Regions from separate parts of the Homo sapiens genome. Here region 1 is linked to region 2. Evidence: promoter capture Hi-C in 16 types of primary human blood cells and fetal thymus (Javierre and others, 2016). All regions are on one chromosome and are shown on one strand. Each heading gives the region's core, a stretch centred on a gene start or on the middle of the fragment in contact. The rest is flanking DNA. Distances are from core to core; before and after follow the strand shown.

Region 1 (5,693 bases), core at 2,714-5,213, 8.7 Mb after region 2:
CTCTATACTGGTCAAAGGTGGAGTCAAATACCAAAGCTCTCAGAGGATTTTTGCGATGCACTTTAGGACTAGTAAATATAAGTAAAAAGTAAATATATATACACTAAATTAAAATCTTAATAAAATTCTTATTTTCAACTTAGATATTGTACTTGAGTTCTTGAGAAAGTTTGATACACAACAGCCTAAATAAAAAGACCTTTTTATAAAATATATTAGATTTAATAACCTCTAGTTTTAACAAATTATTTATGAATATATTTGTTCAGCTTAAAGCAAAGGAAAATAACTGCCAATGTACTGAGGTATATTTTATAATGATTGTCATGAAAAGACCTCTATCAATCATCTTTACTTTTTCTTTTACTTTACTGTACTTGCCTTCTATGTATTACTAAAAGCAAATAAATTTATTCTCGCTGCCTGCAAGAATATTTGCCACATCCATTAAGCTAAAATAACAGTTCAAGCTGACAGTCTTTGAACTATTAAACATGGACAGTTTTTGAACTATTAAATAGAGACAACTAGTACAAAAATCACCAAATACTCACGGGGGGATTCTTTCAATAATTGCCTGAAGAACACTCTCAACATTTGTTCCAAGTTTAGCAGAAATCTAAAAAGATACATGTGAAAAATATAAGCATTTAAAGTTAAGACTATACTTTTCTATCTTGATGACCTGTGACTTATGATCAGAAGGAAAAAAAAATTCCAATAGTTATCAATTTGAGAAATACACCAAAAGGAAAAGAACAAAGCAAACAGTATATTGACAAATACTTTTTCTATTATAGTTACGTAGTTCTACAGTTCTAGAATGGAATTACAAGAGAGTCCTAATTATGGTATTGAAAGAGGAATAGTTCGAAATCTGGGTAACAATCATGTCTTTGCATTGAATCCATGTATTTCACCAGTATCTATCTCTTTGAGCATAAATTTCATCATCTAAAAAATGAAGTGATTATTCATATTCTGCCTAAATCTCAAGGTTGTTGTGTGGATAAACAATGTATGTGGATGGCATAAAACCATAAGGCATCTTACTACTACTTTAGTGTTCTCACACCAGAAAAGCAAGCCAACACTCAAGCCACATGGTATGACTGACCTTTATCACTGGTAATAAATGGACTATCTCTGAAATCCTGACTTCAAACTTCTTACTCTTCACATTCACTCTAGACTAGGATTTCTCAGTTTCAGCCCTACTGACATTTTGGGCCAGATAATTCTTTGTTTTGGGAGGCTGTCCTGTGCATTACAGGATGTTCAGCAGCAACCAGGGCACCTCATTTACCCACAAGATGCTGGTAGCATCCCTCCCAAGATGTGAAAACCAAAAATATCTCCAAATATTTGCCCAGGGGCAAAACCACCCACCACTGACAACTACTGCTCTAGACTGTAGTACTTTCTTTACAATAGTCCTTAACTTGTAACTATTGAATATACTACTTGATGCTGTCCATCAGCTTCACCCTCCACTCTGTTTCTATCTTTTCCCAGATGGGACTCCAAGATCCATCATTTACATTCACTCTGGTTCAACCACTTTCTGTTCTCTTCTTATTAGAGGCAGCTGACAAAACCTCAACCTTGACTGCATCCAATTATGTGTTTTTTCTATGCCCATATACAGAACAGCTTAACATTACTGGAAAAAAGAAATCAAATAAATGGTCTGGTTCGTTTCTTGTATCTGACAACAAGCTATCTTGCCTATGGGCAGCTGTGCTTCTTATATACTTATCTCCAAATCAAGAAACATCATTTAATGCAATGCAGATTTTAAAATTAAGGTTCTTTATTAATTTTAAAGTATGAAATGGAGGTTTGTAGACAGTGCTCAGTTTAGCAATGAACTGTTATGTTTTATGTATATTGTTTCCTCCTGGATCATAATCTCCTTTTCATATGGATAGTTAATACTGAGCCATAGTAATTTCACATCTGGGCTACCATTAATAGCTGGATTCCCTGTATCTCTTCTTATACCTCTTTGATCCATTCTCTGTAAGGCTACCTGAATGACTGGTTAATTTGTTTCTCTTGCTTTAAAATCCTTCCATTGTCTTAGAATAATTTTCAAGCTCTTCAGCACAGCACGAGTCCCAGCATGACTTGATTCCTGCATACCCCTACAAAGCCTTCTCATCCAATCAACCTTTCTGATCAGTAAACATGCCAAATCTTTTCCTAATTTAAGTCCTTTACACATGCTCTTTTCTCTTCCTGGAATGTTTTTCTGAAAATTATTCATTCCTCCACGTTTCAGTTTATCAGAGACGCTTTTGCTAAGTTATTCCATGTCATAACGTCTCTCTAAGAAAAAAGACTTTTCACTGTTAATGATGGTATTTCACCTAGAATAATAACAATTTGTCGAATGAATTTCCTTGACAATCTCTATCCTAGTCAATAATTCCTATGCTTACTTCTTTGTTTACTTATTTATTGACTGTCTGCAGAAAGGAAGGGGTCTTGTCTGTCTTATTCACTGCCATACTCTTAGCTGGCATATACCAAATAAGAATCTGAATGAATTTTATTAAGATTAAAATCAGAATAGTTAATTGTATTTTAATATAACATAATCCAAAATATAAAACCATATATAACTTGCTCTTTTGAAAATTAAATTAGCTTGAAAGAAAAACATTACATTGCTGTGCTGACATACTTTACACTACCATGTAGTATAGCAGTTTGGCTGTGGCTGTTTAACAAGCAGATCATCATTTCAAAGGTAAATAAAAATTCAAATTTAAAATGGTAGCAACTTTGGTATAAATAAAATCTATTGTTTCCTAGCACTACAACTAGCTTTTTATAAAATAGGTTTTTGTCAGTTCCAAGAATGATACATACAAAAGCCCTGAAATTAGTTTGAACCTGCTCTTCAAAGACAGTATTTCCACTGGGCAAACTGACACACAAGAAATACTGCAGGGAGTTTCAGAAGGCCTGTGTTTTAGTCCTGGCACATTGGCTAACTAAACCTGTGATCTTAGGAAAGTGATAAAACCTTTGAGCCTCAGTTCCTTTAACTACAGCATCGCAATAATTTCTGTATGTCCTAACAATATAAAAAGGGCTTTTGATAAGGATCAAAGGAAATAATAGTAAAAGAAGTTTGTAAAACTATAAAAAACAGCATATAATGCCAGGTTATCAAATACCATGAAATTTCACTTAGCCCAATTACTTGAGACTTTTTTCAAAGTATAATCTTTTTAGGAACGTATTTTACCTTAATACATTCATCACTTGGAATATCAAACACTTTCTCAATTTGGTTTTCAACCCTTTCAGGATCAGCATTCTTCAGATCTATCTTTAAAAAAAAAAATCCATTATGTGAAGTATAATAAAGATAAGATGTATTATGTATTAACAGTATTCGGAGGTAATTAAAAGCTTACCCACTTTAACCTAACTGACCCCTCTACAATATTTTTTCAAAAGCAGTAAAATAATCTATATATTAGCAGTATAATTTAATAACCATGATTGAAAAAGAGAAGTTAAGTAGCAGAGCTTGCAAAAAAAACTTAAGCAGTTAGCTACCCAGGGCAGCAGAAGAGATCAGTAGTAATTTATCAATTAAGCAGCATGTGAACTGATTTTAAAGGTTAAGTTAAATACAACATTAAGTCTGACAACAAGCTGTCTTACCTATGGCCTTCTTTTAAACTTAACTCCATTATCAAGAAATATAATTAAAGCAATGCAGATTTTAAAATTAAGATTCTAAATTAATTTTAAAATATGAAATGGAAGTTTATAGACAGAGCTCAGTTTAGCACTAAATTGTCATGCTTCATGTGTTGTATTGTTTCTTCCTAGATTATAAACTTCTCTTCTTTTCCTATGTATGGTTTAATCTGACAAACATGTTTCATCTGCCCTGCTTCCCTTCCCTACAGAAATGGCCCTCAGCTACCACAAGTTAATTCAGGAGAACTACCTTCTCAATTCTGTGCAAGGGTGAGTTTCAGTTGCACTTCTGTTATATACAATTCAAAGAGATAAATCCCACCAATATATTTAATAAATAGCTGGTGATCCCTCATATAATGAATAGTACAACTGACATTTAAACATTAATTGTACTTTTAGAAAGTGAAATAGCAACACTGTTGTCTCATTGTAATTACCTTATTTATAACTGGAATTACCGATAGCTGTGCTTCGAAGGCAAGAAAGAAGTTTGCTACAGTTTGGGCTTGAATTCCCTGAAAATATCAAGATACAAGATACTGAGATGACCATTCTATTATATATCACAAAACTTGTAATTTAAGACCATTCTATACATCTTCATCAAGAGATTTTGCGTTATGCTAATAATAAAATTAAACAAAATGCCATGTAGCTACCCTTCATGCTTTTCTCTCCAACTTATGTCTTTGGGGTCAATATGAAAATCGCTGATGGTAAAGCAATAATCACATCAAGTAGAGTGAGCCAACAGACAGTCTACTAAGCTTGAGATAGGAAGCCTTTAAGGAAAGGTACACGGCAGCTCAACTATGATACCTATTTTTCCATGCATCTGAATCATCCTCTGTAATAATTCCTTTCAGTTCAGAAAGCATTTATTGGAGGGCCTTTTCTGTGCCAGAAACTACATCAGGCATTGGAGAAACAAAAGATGTAACATGGACTCTCAAGGACCTCAAAGCTTATTAGAGAACACAGTCATCAAGGTAGTTTATAAAGGCCAGTACTGCCTACATAAGGTAGAGATTGACTTTCCTTGATGGGATCAGGAAAGGCTTAACGGCTTAACACAACACGGTCACCACCACCACTAAAAAAAAGTTGGGTTTTGAATGAAGAGTTTGTGAGAAACATGTAACAAAAGTTTATATTCACAGCTCTTACATGGTCATCTGCTGAGTGTCTTTACGGCTTACACAACAAAAGAGCTTAGTAATGTTACTGATTTTTTAAAAACCTAATACTTCCAAATTATTGCCTTAAAATCACCTAAAATGATCTGAAAACTAATGATTTATTCTTAAGATCTGCTAAAAATGGATATAGAAACCTCAGATTAAGAACTGCTAAAGTTGGTGGGGTTTTTTTGGTAAGATGCATTGACAATATGATGTCACACTTCAAAAAAATACAACAATCTTTTGAACAATTCCAATTTAAAAACTAGTCAATTCCAGAGAATGCTTTATTGTAATAATATTTCAGATTAACAGGATGAAACCATATGATTTTCAGTAAGTAACAGATTAAATCTATTTTTCAAACACAAAAATTCTATTTCCAAAACACATTTTAAAGAAAAACTCTTGAAACAACCAAATAGTCATGTCATATCACATCATACAAAATGAAAAATACCTACCTCATTTGCATCAACCACAAGTAAAACACCCTGGCAAGCAGAAAGTGACCTGGATACTTCATAACTAAAATCAACATGGCCCTGAGAAACAAAAATATTGATACCTGTAAATGTGAGTTAATTTTTTAGGAAAGAGCATTATGGCAAATTTATTGACTTTACTTGATAAAAGCTGTTAAATATTCGTTTCTTTTTTGTAGCCTGCACTTTTGAAACAACTGACACTAACATAAGAACACTGAGAAAACAAAAAGCAAAGGCAGATGTTTAATACTCAGTTCAAAAATTAAACAAGGATCTGTTTGCACTACTGACACAA
Region 2 (5,763 bases), core at 2,821-5,320:
TGGTGGGCTATAATTCAAGCTTTTTACACATTTTAAAAATATATGACAAACTTAATCAATTTTAATTATCCTAAATCAATTTGATCTTTACAGTGGCATTTTATAGCACAATCACCAAATAAAGCAAAATGAAAGATAAAAAGTCAAAACATAACTGTTATATTTTCATTGTTCTACTGCTTGCTTCAAGAAAACAAATATGCAGCTATAATTGTTCAGTACATTTACCTCCTGCTGAAATAAGCTTCTAGGTAGCCAGAAGCAAGTCCCATTTGCTTTCTACGTCACAAAACAGTATCCCTTCTTTAGTCAAAACTTGGATAGATATAACACAATTGGAGACTGCAATGCAATGTTTAAGAAAAACAGAGGCTTCAGCAATGAGCCAGTCAGTAGGAAACGGGCAAATTCTAATAGCAGGAACTTTGGTAGAGCAATGCAATGATGTACCAAGCCAGATAGCAGTAGGTCTGGCAGAGTACCTTTCTTCAATAGGCCTACTCTTTTGGAAGTTTTAATTTTCTATCACCATTAAAATGTTAGAAACATGATAAAATTTTAAGCTTTTTCTAGAAAAATAACACTGTAAAGGAAATTGTTTTTTCCCCCATAGGATGAAATCAACTCAACGGCTCCCCAAATGAAGTTGCAGAAAGGAATATAAAGCTATGTTGACAGTGACACTCAGGGAAGGTAGAAGGTTCCCTCCAATAAATTTTAGCAAGTTGTGTATTGCGGAATTAAAATTAAAGAATGTTTGATTAGAAAGTAAGCTTTTAAAATTGTAACCAATAAAAATAAAAATTAATGGGATAAAGATTATCATATAGAAAAGTATATTTGATTGTAAAACTATACCTGTAATTAATTTCTTGACCAACTGAAGGAATGGGTACAAAGAAATATTCAATCACTTTCATAACATAAACTAAAACTAATCTCAACTTTGTGGTTGAGATCAGAATTAGGAACTGAGTTGAATATATAAATTTTAAAATGAAATAACATTTCAGATAATATACCAATGAGTGAAAAGACTATAGGGGATTTTTTGGGTAAGGAAGCTGAACTGTAGTTTCAGCTCCTCCTAAGCTATTTCTACTTCCATTTCTCACTTTTTCCCTCTATCCATTTTTTGTTGTAACAGCTTTGAGATGCAATTCACATATTATACAATCTACCCATTCAAACAGGACAACTGAGTTTTAATATGGTCACATAGTCCAACCATCACAACTATCTAATTCCAGAATGTATGCATCACTCCCAAAAGGAACTTTGTATACATTAGCAATCACTCACCCAACTCTTAGTAACCACTAATCTGTCTCTACGGACTGACATCTTTAGCTTCCACATTTGTAAGGTTCATCCGTGTTGTAACATCTACCAGTACTTCATTTTATTGTCCTTGCCAAATAATATTCCGCTGTATGGATATAACACATTTAATCTATCCATTCATCAGTTGATGCAGCTGCGAGGTTTTCTTTTTCCACTTTCTATTAAGAATAATGCTGCTATGAATATTCACGTACAAGTTTTTGTCTGAATATGTTTTCATTCCTCTAAGGTGGAGGACTCACATGGTAACTCCATGTTTCACCATTTGAGAAAATGGCCAGGCTGTTCTTCAAAGCAGCTGCACCATTTTACAATCCCACCAGAAGTGTATGAGGGTTTTATTTCCCCATATCCTCACTAACACCTGTTTTATCTTTTCGATTGCAGCTTACTCGGTATGAAGTTGTATATCTTCCACTTTTTAAACCCAAATATTCCTTAAAATCTTCTAACTACCTCTCCCTCCATTACAGACACTAATGCATGTGGTCAGGGTAAAGCCGACATCTCCATGTACTTCTTTACATGGCTTGCTTTTTGAAATCTGGGGTAAAATTCTGACTCCCTGTATATGTTCTATAAATGAACACTTACATCTTTCTTACAATCTAACAAAGAAATCAACCTTATAACAAATCAGCTAATTACATTTTGAATGCAAACAATACATAGCATTGAAATTACAACCAAACTGCCATTATATCATCAAAAATGTTAATAAACTGGAAAAGCAGTAGTTTGGAGTGTTCCTGATTTACTTAAAAACATTTTCAATTAAGTTAAAATATTTTTATCAGTAGCTTAACGATTATACTGTATACTTCACTACTGAATTCACTTAAGAGTAACAAGTTACTTAACAGTGTAAAATCAGTCCAATCCTAAGTTCAAAAACTTTGTCCTTTAAACTACCAACAAATAGAATTGGCGTAAGATTAGGTCCTGAAACTGGAATAATCCTTAAAGGATTCAATGTCCTCCAAAATGTTGTAAGTCAGTGTTGTAATGAAGCCAATGATTGTAAGAAAATAATTTTGACAACTGACAGAACCATTGTTTCACACAACCTGTGTAATAGGCATCAACAGAAAATTTCACTAACCTGGCATTTTCTTCTTCTGGCCTTTCAACTTCATTTTCATCTACCAAGTAAAATAAACAAATAAATAAATAAGCAAACAAAATAAAGAAACCACTCTTAAAGAAACTAGTATTATGAAAATCTGAAGTGATCATCACAAGCACTAACCTAGGTCCTTTGCCAAATCACTGTGCACATGCACGTCCCATGGGCCTATAAGCACATCCAAAGTTAGATCACCTTATAATTACTTAACAAGATACTTATTTTATGGAAAAAAAAATCAGACTTTACTGCTATAAAAATAAGCTTAAATTTAAGAGGTAATGAAGATTTCCAGATCTTTGTAAAAGAAATCCTACACATTCACATTTCAAAGAGTAGTAACTAATGCTAAATCTTGCCACCAAACGATTTTTTTTTACAAGTTTATCAAAGTCACATCATCAAGGACCTGCATGGTGCCCAAAGTGCACTTTTACTATTCTATTCTAAAGACAATCAAGAATATATGTTTTAGGCAAGGAACAAACATTAACTTTCAAATCTGGTGTTAACAAGCAAGAAGGGATTGTGACTTAAAGTTAAAAACCAGATGTCAAACAAGTACCCTTCTAGAGAGAAGTACATGATGCATTAAATTTATTTTGAGAAAAACAAATACATGAGATGACACTGAAAACTATAAGCCGAAGGGTCATGAGATACCTCCATGATGTAGGTTAAACGGTAGTCTCTTAAAAAAGAATAACTTCACCTTAATACAGGAGACATTCAGAGTTTTCTTTATGGGCCATCTTTCTCTCTCTCTCTCTTAATTAATTATTTTTAAAGCACGACTTTCAGACAAGGAGGTACCCTTGCAGGTGCATTCCATACAAACTGACCATCAAGAAACAAGACGTTAGTTGTACAGCATTAACTTTATTTAGCTATTATTACAGAATGACTGTTTCTGAAAGAAGGGACAGGAAGGGCACCCTAAGGCCACAGGGCAAAAACAGACACCAAAAACCACCACCTCAGAATCGACAGAAAAAAACAAGGGTAAAGAGCGCAGCAGCTAGGCGATCGAGACGCCTCGGGGAAAGCACAGCGAAGCCGGGGGCCAGGACCGGTCACAGCCCCCCAGCCCGGCCCGGCCGCCACAGGGGTGGATGCGCATGGTGGGCGTGGGCCAGGCGGGAGACCGCCGCGGGGACTGGGGGCACGCGCACGCCGCGCTCGGCCTAAGTCAGGCCGGACAGGACTCCCAACCAGAGGCCCGAAGCGGCGGCGCGAGAGGCCAGGGACGCCGGCCGTTTGAGGGCCAAGAGGGGAGGCCTGAGAGAACCCGAGAGACAGAGACAGGAAGTTTCGTACCGCCATAGAGCCACTCTTCCTCCTCATCCCCTCCGGTCCCGCCGCTCAGCTCCGACACTAGGCGCTCGACCTCGCCGGCCGACATGGCCGCCCCGAGCGCAACTTAAACGCGGCGATCAACAGCCCCCTCCAACCCCTTCCCCAGCCTCGCAGCCCCGAGGCGCGAGAAGGGCGCGAACCCGCCGACGAACGAACGAAGAAAGCTCGAGACTCCAATCCCAGGAAGGCGACGGCAGCGGCGGCAAAGATGAAGCCTCCAGCGCAGGTCCGTCTGCGCATGCGCAGGAGACCCAAGCGGCGCGGCGCGTATAGGTGGCTTCGCTTCCGCGGCGGCCACCTGGGCCTGGTTGCGCCTGCGCGCTGAGGTGGGCCCCGCCCCTCTAGGATCCCGGTTTGCTATTTTGCGTGGCTTCCTCCCGTGGCGTCCTGAGTCGGCCAGGGTTCCCCGCCCCCACCCTTCTTTTTAATAACCCGTATTGCCATTGCTGGCGAGTACACCATTGTTCCCTTCTACTCTTCGTGCTCTTTCTTCTCAACTTTTTATTTGTTTTTTAATCTTCAGAAAGGCCTTCTTTTATTCTTTAATCAGCCTTGATACAGAATCATTACCTGTCACTCCCTTTCCTCACTGAATAGAGAAGAAATCACAATCAGTACTATTTCTCAAAAAATTAATTTTCACAGCCAACAAAAGCAAAACTAATAGATGAAGAATGCACTCTCCTTGTTAAAAACCATAAATTACTGTCAAGGTCAAAGACCGCCTCATTCCCCTACCCTTCTCTCCGGAGGTAGCCCTTGCTACAGATGCATATCCTGTTTGGAGTTCATCATTCCGAAATTTCCTATACACTTACTTCATGTGTTGTGCTGTTTTGGTGGGAGAACCTGAGATTGACAAGTCTTAAATAGTACAGTACAGTATAGTATCATCCTTCGACTTCCTTTTTTTTCTTTTTTTTTAGCATCCGTGTCTTGGAGCTCTTTTTCATTTTAGTATGAATCAAACTATATCTATTTTAAGTGCTTCATAAAATTGCATAGTATGGCTATCACAGAGTGAATATGGCTATTTCTCCATTGATGTACACCCAGATTGCTTTTGACTTTACACTTTTAACTACAACAAAAAATGACAATGAAGATCCACACGGCTCCTTGCAGATTTGTCTGTTTCTCAAAGATAGATCATAAAGTATGTACAGTTTTTATTTTAATAGGTAAACCAAATGTTCAGGCCGCTTCTGAAAGCACATCTTCCAGTGAAAAGATGACATACCATGGTTCAAACTGGAGCTCTAGGTTTGTCTAGGTTTTTTGTTTGTTTGTTTATTTATTTGAGGCGGAGTCTCACTCTGTTGCCCAGCTGGAGTACAGTGGTGCGATCTCTGCTCACTGCAACCTCCACCTCCTGGGCTCAAGCGATTCTTCTGCCTCAGCCTCCCAAGTAGCTGGGATTACAGGCACGCACCACCATGCCCAGCCAATTTTTGTATTTATAGTAGAGAGGGGGTTTCACCATTTTGGCCAGGCTGGTTTTGAACTCCTGACCTCAGGTGATCTGCCCACCTTGGTGTCCCAAAGTGCTGGGCTTACAGGCATGAGCCACCACGCCCGGCCTGTTTTTTTGTTTTGTTTTGTTTTGTTTTGTTTTGTTTTGTTTTGTTTAAAAAACAGTCTTACTCTGTAACCCAGGCTGAAATGCAGTGGCAGGGTCACTGTTCACTGCAGTCTCTACCTCCCAGACTCAAACAGTCCTCCCACTTCAGCCTCCTGAGTACCTGGGACTACAGACAAGCAGGTGCCACCACACCTGGCTAATTTTTTATTTTTTGTAGAGACAATGTCTCACCATGTTGCCTAGGCTGGTCTGGAACTCGTGGTCTCTAGCAATCCTTCCACCTAGGCCTCCTAAAGTGCTGGGATTACATGTATGAGCCACCAGGCCTGGCCTCAGTTCTTCATTATACCTAGCA

The links. Contacts are between HindIII fragments. The CHiCAGO score rates a contact against its expected background, and 5 or more counts as called.
Region 1: a fragment that was not itself captured here is called in contact with the fragment with the promoter of FIP1L1 in region 2 in 3 of 17 cell types (total CD4 T cells, monocytes and non-activated CD4 T cells); the score reaches 8.0 in total CD4 T cells.

What each region holds. Positions count from the first base shown.
Region 1 is chr4:44,680,885-44,686,577 of GRCh38, reverse strand. It overlaps GUF1 (GTP binding elongation factor GUF1), which reads right to left. Exons shown (of 17, transcript NM_021927.3): 4 at 5,375-5,455; 5 at 4,167-4,244; 6 at 3,260-3,343; 7 at 555-619; 8 at 1-68. Among named protein-coding and RNA genes, the nearest start is that of GUF1, 5.3 kb to the right of the region's middle. The HindIII fragment of the contact is 1,070 bases long and covers 3,429-4,498 here.
Region 2 is chr4:53,375,948-53,381,710 of GRCh38, reverse strand. It overlaps FIP1L1 (factor interacting with PAPOLA and CPSF1), which reads right to left and starts at 4,070. Exons shown (of 18, transcript NM_030917.4): 1 at 3,788-4,070; 2 at 2,594-2,638; 3 at 2,447-2,486. The coding sequence starts at 3,872. It overlaps LOC105377654 (a long non-coding RNA gene), which reads left to right and starts at 3,971. Exons shown (of 3, transcript XR_007058118.1): 1 at 3,971-4,052. RefSeq lists a silencer at 3,493-3,582 and enhancers at 3,255-3,803, 3,743-3,862, 3,913-4,002, 3,804-4,352. The HindIII fragment of the contact is 4,469 bases long and covers 2,737-5,763 here.